2 separate regions of the Homo sapiens genome follow, and region 2 is linked to region 1. The links are contacts of gene promoters, found by promoter capture Hi-C in blood cells and fetal thymus (Javierre and others, 2016). All regions are on one chromosome and are shown on one strand. Each heading gives the region's core, a stretch centred on a gene start or on the middle of the fragment in contact. The rest is flanking DNA. Distances are from core to core; before and after follow the strand shown.

Region 1 (3,954 bases), core at 176-2,675:
GGATGAAGACTTGTCTTTAAAGATGACAACGTACAGGAAAGGTCCATCAGCCGATCTCCCCCTGCCTGGGCCCACAGCGCCCCCCAAACCCTCACCACCCTCTCTCACTGCCTAGCCTGCCTCCCTACCTTCTCTCTGAGGTCGCTCCTCATTCTTGTGTTACCCAGGACAGGGACCTAGCCAGAAACCGGCAGCATTCCCCCTTCTGTGGAGTGACAGTATCTCCCTCTCATTGTAACTTATCCTCAGGCGCATTCGACAGTCCCCTCTTGCTTTCTCACCCCCTTCCTTCACCCAAGGGACCCTCTGCCTCTCCAGCCCACTCCCAGCCTCCTTTCTCTTGGTTCCCTGGTCATGCCTGCCTCCCTGTCTCCTGTCTCTCCCTCCCACACACACCCACTATCCTCCCAGCTATCCCAGCACCCTCCTTCCTAATCTTGGGAGACATCTCGTCTGGCTGGACGGGAAAATTCCAGGATCTAGGCCACACTTCTCAGCAGACATGCCCATCCTTGGGGAGGAGGAACAGGAGAGAGCCTGAGGAAGTTCTGGGGGACAGGGGGATGATGGGATCAAGGTCAGGCCAGGAAGCCCCTGAGGACAGAGACTGTGGGGAGACTGGGACTGGGAAGAAAGCAAAGGAGCTAGAGCCAGGGCCAAAGGAAAAGGGGGGCCAGCAGGGAGGTATTTGCGGGGGAGGTCCAGCAGCTGTCTTTCCTAAGACAGGGACACATGGGCCTGGTTATTCCTCTTGTCACATGTGGAACGGTAGGAGATGGAAGACGGAGACAGAACAAGCAAAGGAGGGCCCTGGGCACAGAGGTCTGTGTGTGTAGCCATCTAAGCCACTGGACCCCAGCAGACGAGCACCTAAGCTCAGGCTTAACCCAGTGCACGTGTGCGCACATACATGTGCCCCGCACCTGACAGTCCACTCAACCCGTCCAAACCCTTTCCCCATAACACCAACCCATAACAGGAGATTTCTCTCATGTGGGCAATATCCGTGTTCCCACTTCGAAAGGGGGAATGACAAGATAGGACTCCCTAGGGGATTACAGAAAGAAAAGCAGGAAAGCAAGCATCCTGTTGGATTTCAGCAGCAGGTATGATGTCCAGGGAAAAGAAATTTGGATAGCCAGGGAGTGAAAACCCCACCAATCTTAAACAAGACCTCTGTGCTTCTTCCCCAGCAACACAAATGTCCTGCCAGATTCCTCCTGGAAAAAAACTTCTGCTCCTGTCCCCCTCCAGGTCCCAGGTTGCCCATGTCCAGGAAAAGATGGATCCCCCTATCCAAATCTTCTCCGTGGTGTGTGTGGGTGGAGGAGTGGACCCTGGTCCAGGCAGGGGCTCCAGGGAAGAGAAGGCGTCACTTCCGGGGGCCTTCACCAGTGTCTGGTGGCTCCCTTCTCTGATTGGGCAGAAGTGGCCCAGGCAGGCGTATGACCTGCTGCTGTGGAGGGGCTGTGCCCCACCGCCACATGTCTTCCTACCCATCTGCTCCCCAGAGGGCTGCCTGCTGTGCACTTGGGTCCTGGAGCCCTTCTCCACCCGGTGAGTGGCCAGCAGGGTGTGGGGTTATGTGAGGGTAGAAAGGACAGCAAAGAGAAATGGGCTCCCAGCTGGGGGAGGGGCAGGCAAACTGGAACCTACAGGCACTGACCTTTGTCGAGAAGAGTGTAGCCTTCCCAGAATGGGAGGAGCAGGGCAGAGCAGGGGTAGGGGGTGGGGTGCTGGTTTCTGAGGGACTGATCACTTACTTGGTGGAATACAGCACAGCCCTGGCTGGCCCTAAGGAAAGGGGACATGAGCCCAGGGAGAAAATAAGAGAGGGAGCTGCACTTAGGGCTTAGCAAACACAGTAGTAAGATGGACACAGCCCCAATCCCCATTCTTAGCTGGTCATTCCTCGTTAGCTTAAGGTTCTGAATCTGGTGCTGGGGAAGCTGGGCCAGGCAAGCCAGGGCGCAAGGAGAGGGTAATGGGAGGAGGGCCCACTCATGTTGACAGACCTACAGGAAATCCCAATATTGAATCAGGTGCAAGCCTCTTTGCACAACTTGTGAAAGGAGGAGGAAGCCATGTGGGGGGTCCTGTGAAGGAACCGGAAGGGGTTCTGCCAAGGGGGCAGGGAGGCAGGTGTGAGCTATGAGACAGATATGTTAGTGGGCGCCTAAGACAAGGTAAGCCCCTAAGGTGGGCATCACCCAGCAGGTGCCCGTTCCTGGGCAGCTGGTCTCAGGAAGGAAGTCCCAGAACTGTTAGCCCATCTCTTGGCCTCAGATAATGGAGTATTTCAGGACTTGGAGTCCAGAGAAAAGCTCCAGTGGCTTTATGTGTGGGGGTAGATAGGGAAAGAATAGAGGTTAATTTCTCCCATACCGCCTTTTAATCCTGACCTCTAGTGGTCCCAGTTACAGCTTTGTGCAGTTCCCCTCCCCAGCCCCACTCCCCACCGCAGAAGTTACCCCTCAACATATTGCGCCCGTTTGCCAGTTCCTCACCCAGGCCCTGCATCCCATTTTCCACTCTCTTCTCCAGGCTGAAGCCACAATACTTTCCTTCTCTATCCCCATCCCAGATTTTCTCTGACCTAACAACCAAGGTTGCTCAGAATTTAAGGCTAATTAAGATATGTGTGTATACATATCATGTCCTGCTGCTCTCAGCAGGGGTAGGTGGCACCAAATCCATGTCCGATTCACTGAGGAGTCCTGACAAAAAGGAGACACCATATGCTTTCTTGCTTTCTTTCTTTCTTTCTTTCTTTCTTTTTTTTTTTTGAGACGGAGTTTCACTCTTATTGCCCAGGCTGGAGTGCAATGGTGCGATCTCGGCTCACCACAACCTCCGCCTCCCAGGTACAAGCGATTCTCCTGTCTCAGCCTCCCAAGTAGCTTGGATTACAGGCATGAACCACCACACCCTGCTAGTTTTTTTGTATTTCGTAGAGCCGGGGTTTCACCATGTTAGTGAGGCTGGTGGCGAACTCCTGACCTCAGGTGATCCACCCGCCTTGGACTCCCAAAGTGCTGGGATTACAGGCATGAGCCACTGCACCCGGCACACCATATGCTTTCATCACAAGAAAATGTGAGAGAATTCAGGGCTTTGGCAGTTCCAGGCTGGTCAGCATCTCAAGCCCTCCCCAGCATCTGTTCACCCTGCCAGGCAGTCTCTTCCTAGAAACTTGGTTAAATGTTCACTCTTCTTGCTACTTTCAGGATAGATTCTTCACCCTTGGCCCGCCTTTGCCCCACCCTACTCTGCCCAGAAGTGCAAGAGCCTAAGCCGCCTCCATGGCCCCAGGAAGGATTCAGGGGAGAGGCCCCAAACAGGGAGCCACGCCAGCCAGACACCCCGGCCAGAATGGAGCTGACTGGTGAGAACACACCTGAGGGGCTAGGGCCATATGGAAACATGACAGAAGGGGAGAGAGAAAGGAGACACGCTGCAGGGGGCAGGAAGCTGGGGGAACCCATTCTCCCAAAAATAAGGGGTCTGAGGGGTGGATTCCCTGGGTTTCAGGTCTGGGTCCTGAATGGGAATTCCTGGAATACCAGCTGACAATGATTTCCTCCTCATCTTTCAACCTCACCTCTCCTCATCTAAGAATTGCTCCTCGTGGTCATGCTTCTCCTAACTGCAAGGCTAACGCTGTCCAGCCCGGCTCCTCCTGCTTGTGACCTCCGAGTCCTCAGTAAACTGCTTCGTGACTCCCATGTCCTTCACAGCAGACTGGTGAGAACTCCCAACATTATCCCCTTTATCCGCGTAACTGGTAAGACACCCATACTCCCAGGAAGACACCATCACTTCCTCTAACTCCTTGACCCAATGACTATTCTTCCCATATTGTCCCCACCTACTGATCACACTCTCTGACAAGGATTATTCTTCACAATACAGCCCGCATTTAAAAGCTCTCGTCTAGAGATAGTACTCATGGAG
Region 2 (4,075 bases), core at 39-2,538, 190 kb after region 1:
ACCCCATCACAGACAGTCCCCTCCCTTGCTTCCTCCTCCTCACCGAGGACTGTTCCCTCTTTAGCAGTCCTGGAAGTTTGGTTCCACAGTCTGTAAGCGATAAGAAAAGCAGTCACCTTCTCCCTGAGGGAAGGGAAACTAACATTTTGAGTGACTAATAGGAACCAGGCACAGACACAGATGTTTTCTACAAAACCTTATAATACTGCAGATAGATGGCTATTATCTTCCCTGCACTAAAAACAAAACAAAACAAAACAAAACAAAACTCACGTAGAAGGATACAGAGGCATAGACAAGGCTGGGGACAGATAACCAACTCTTACAAGATCATGCAGCTGGTTAGCAAGTTGCAAAACTGGGGGTGAAAGCAAGTCTGTCCAGCTCCAGGCTCTTATGCTTCCTATCCTACCCAAGAGCTTGGAGGGAGAACCCTCCAACCTCCTCCCCACCCCCATCATGGGCTCTTCTGCCCTCGGTAAAGACATCAACTAGCTCCTACAACCTTGTCCTGTGGAAAAGACGTAGGAGCCCTAAGCTGCAGGCAGCAGATGGTTGGGGGCGGAGAAAAGCACAGGGGGGCAGTTAGTTCAACCTCCCCTCACTCTCACCGTAGTTCTCCGTTATCTTTGACAACTGGATAGGGGCGTCCAGTAGCACCTGGCTATTTCCCTGGCTTTGTGGCTCAGCCCTATGTGGGTAGGGATAGAAAGCGCAGAGTTAGGAGTTGAGGGAAAAGCTCTATGGCCATCAGATCTTCCTCCCCCACCTCTTGTCTCCGGACCGTTCGCCGTCCCTTCGCCCCCATCAACCCCTACTCCCTGGCACATACAGACGCAGAGTGTTGTACATGCGCTGGCACACGGCCCTGATGCCCGCGTCATCCTTGCTGTCCCCGGACACCTCTTGCAATAGTTCCCCTACAGCTTCCACCAGGTCATCCACAGACTCGAAGTCCGCGCTGCCGCTGTGCAAGACGCCTGGGCAGGGCGTGGTAGAACGAGGAAGGTATCGGGTAGGGTGGACACACAAGCAGTTTCAGACCCCAGACAGAGGCCCCAGTCCAGGCTCCAGACCCAACCAGCCCCCGGGACAAGAGGTCATGCAGAGGAGAGGCCTGGCAACAGTCCCGGGCACGACGCTCGCTTAGACTTTCCCCCGGCCTCCACTTCGGTCTCCCCAGCCGGCCGATTCAGTTCTGCTTACCGGTCACGTAGTCGAAGACTTGTCCGTCAATTTCGGGGAACTCGCTCCGCAGGATTTCGGCGCAAGTCGCCATGTTCCACTCAGGAACCCGTCCGCGCAGTCGCTGTGAGACCCCGGCCTAGGCCCGCCCCCCGCCCTGCCCCCGAAATCTCGCCCTTCCTTGCAAGGCGCATGTGTAGCGGTGACGCAGGAAAGGAGCGGAGTGCGCAGAGCCCGGTGGGCGGGGCGAGCGGGGCCTTGAGGAGAGGCGCCGAGTCTGCGCCGGAGCCGCGCTCTCTGCGCGTGCGCGACACCTTTTCCGCTGAAAGATTAGCCACATGTGCGGTTCTCGCTGCCTTCTGGGAGGTGGAGTTCCGGGAGCGAGGGGTGGGGCAAAGGCTGGGAGCTCAAGGTTTATCGGGGCCGCGAGGCACCCGTGGTCTGGCGGGTGGGAGCCTCCCAAGAGGCAGGCGGCTGATAAAGCACTTTGGCTTTGCCAGGTTTTATGCGCTCCCTCGAGGCGCGTCTGCTGCTGGTGCGTACCCAGTCAGGCCCATTTTGGAGCCTGCCCAGAGCTTTGCTGACTCACCCCGGTCCCTGACTCTCAGAAGCCCCCTGCTCAGTGCTTTGCTTTCGCGGGTCCCCAGACCCTACGGGCTTCTCAGCCTGGTGGCCAGCGCCACCCGCCTCCCCGCCGCGACCGCCTTTTCACTGTGTAATTCAGCCGACCTTTGTGAATTAAGCCCATTCAGTTCTTCCACCACCCCAGGGCACGACCAAATCCACCGCCAAAGGGCAAGAAAACCAGGACAACGTGGCCTGTATAAATTATTCCCTACCTACACCCTGAGCAGACTTCTCTGCACTCAATAAATGCCAATAAAAGGCTATTTCCTTTCACCGATTCCCTCGGGAAGTTAGGAATTTCCTCCAAAATGATGCTACTGCTTTATATTTAACGTGAATATTCCTCCAATTGGTCTCTAAAAGTGGCACCGAAAATTACATTATTACCCATTCATCCCTTTGGATTAAACATTGCCATCATGAGGCATCAATCCCGATATTGAACCATTTTACAGGAAATACAGGTAAAGAGGAATATGTTAAGTGACTTCATGGGGACAACAGGCAAATTCTGATGTGGTAAACTACAGAACTCTGGTTTCTTCCACAAAATTGCAAGACCTGAAGGGAAACATCAATTTTTAAAATTTGAGGAGCATTAACCAACCACAATGGACCTTATCTGGAAAAATTTGATAAGACACCTGGTTAAGTGAACACAAACTGGATGTGATATTAAGGAACTGGCCACGCATTGATCATAGTTGAAGCTGGGTGATGAGACATGGAGATTCATTATATTCTTTTTTTTTTTTTTTTTAATTTGAGAAGGAGTTTCGCTCTTGTTGCCCAGGCTGGAGTACAGTGGCGTGATCTTGGCTCACCGCAGCCTCCACCTCCTGGGTTCGAGCGATTCTCCTGCCTCAGCCCCCGAATAGCTGGGATTACCGGCATGCACCACCACGCCCGGCTAATTTTGTAATTTTAGTAGAGACGAGGTTTCCCCATGTTGGTCAGGCTGGTCTCGAATTCCGGACCTCGGGTGATCCACCCGTCTCGGCCTCCCAGAGTGCTGGGATTACAGTGTGAGCCACCGCGCCCAGTCCATTATGTTATTCTCCTTGCAAATCTTTCCTCCTACCACCCAGTCAGCAAGATTTGGGAAGCTTGGGTAAATGATGGAATTAAAAGGTCAATTTCTTAGGATGGCTACAAGACCAAATGTAAACTTCACACTTAATTTATGCTTAATCTAATTAGAAAACATCTGCCTAAGAATTAGAGAAAGAGCTGGGTGCTGTGGTGGTGCGTGCTTGTGATCCCAGCTACTCCAGAGGCTGGGGCAGGTAAGATCTCTTGAGCCTAGGAGTCCGAGGACCAGGGGGAATAAAAAGGAGCTAGGGAAAGAATCTATCCCCAGGGTACTGGGGCCCGCTGCGGCTGCATGCCCTTGAGGCTTTCTAAGAGGAGCCAGGAAACCTGGGCCCAGAACCCACAAGGATAAGGGCTTGGATGGCCCAGGAGGGGCCTAACTGGGACAAGACAAGGAAAGAGCCTTTAGAGTATTCAGTACAGAAAACTGCACGGAGAGCAACACCAGTTCCCTCCCCATGTAGCTCCCACATCAACACTAAGCCAGCAACTCCACTCTACAGAGTTTATTGGGTTTGTAACTGGACGAAGTCACACGTGTACAAAATGAAGCTCACACTATCCCAAAGCAGAGTAGGGACTGAGGCCGGGGATCCATTACTGGCCTTTGGGGGAGCTCTGAGGTGAGGGGCAACCAACCCTCCCACTCCAGAGCTGTGGCCACAGGGGTGGGAAGGAAAGGGAACCCACCTGGCTTTGGTCACAGAACTCAGAGCCTGGCATTAGGCCAGGACAGACAGGTGGATGGGAGAGCAGGAGCCTCAGAACTCCCCTGCCCAGGGAGCCCAGGGGCTGCTCCACCGGTCCCACTTGTAATGTGCTTGGCCCAGACCTAGACTCGGGCTGGTGCAAAGGGAAGGCAGCAAAGCAGGAGGGAGGAGACACTGATGTGTGGTGGGGGAGGGAGCGGCACCTGGACCTGTGGAGGAGGGTGGCTGGGGAGGTGGGCTAGCTGCCTAGTGGCAGCTAGCAGCGAGTTTCATAAATGCCACTGCGGCCAATGTAGCGCACCCATTTGATGACATCATGGTCGCTGTAGTTCAGCTTCGGTTCAAACACCTTCAAGTAGCGCACCTTGAGGCCAGAGGGCGCGAATGGCACCTGGGCAAGGAGAGCTAGTTAGAAATGTGGCCTTCCTCTTACAGCCGCTCTCCTCTGGGAAGTCCCGTTG

What was found. The method cuts DNA at HindIII sites, captures the fragments that hold promoters and counts their contacts. A CHiCAGO score of 5 or more calls a contact.
Region 2: the fragment with the promoter of ABCF3 here is called in contact with the fragment with the promoter of THPO in region 1 in 7 of 17 cell types (naive CD8 T cells, non-activated CD4 T cells, total B cells and 4 more); the score reaches 10.3 in naive CD8 T cells.

The regions. Positions count from the first base shown.
Region 1 is chr3:184,375,678-184,379,631 of GRCh38, reverse strand. It overlaps THPO (thrombopoietin), which reads left to right and starts at 1,425. Exons shown (of 6, transcript NM_000460.4): 1 at 1,425-1,557; 2 at 3,228-3,385; 3 at 3,617-3,744. The coding sequence starts at 3,373. The HindIII fragment of the contact is 10,240 bases long and covers 1-3,954 here.
Region 2 is chr3:184,183,412-184,187,486 of GRCh38, reverse strand. It overlaps ABCF3 (ATP binding cassette subfamily F member 3), which reads right to left and starts at 1,288. Exons shown (of 21, transcript NM_018358.3): 1 at 1,207-1,288; 2 at 833-980; 3 at 612-691; 4 at 44-90. The coding sequence starts at 1,279. It overlaps AP2M1 (adaptor related protein complex 2 subunit mu 1), which reads right to left. Exons shown (of 12, transcript NM_004068.4): 12 at 3,396-4,005. The coding sequence ends at 3,871. RefSeq lists enhancers at 984-1,303, 1,781-2,495, 3,789-4,075. The HindIII fragment of the contact is 6,180 bases long and covers 1-2,920 here.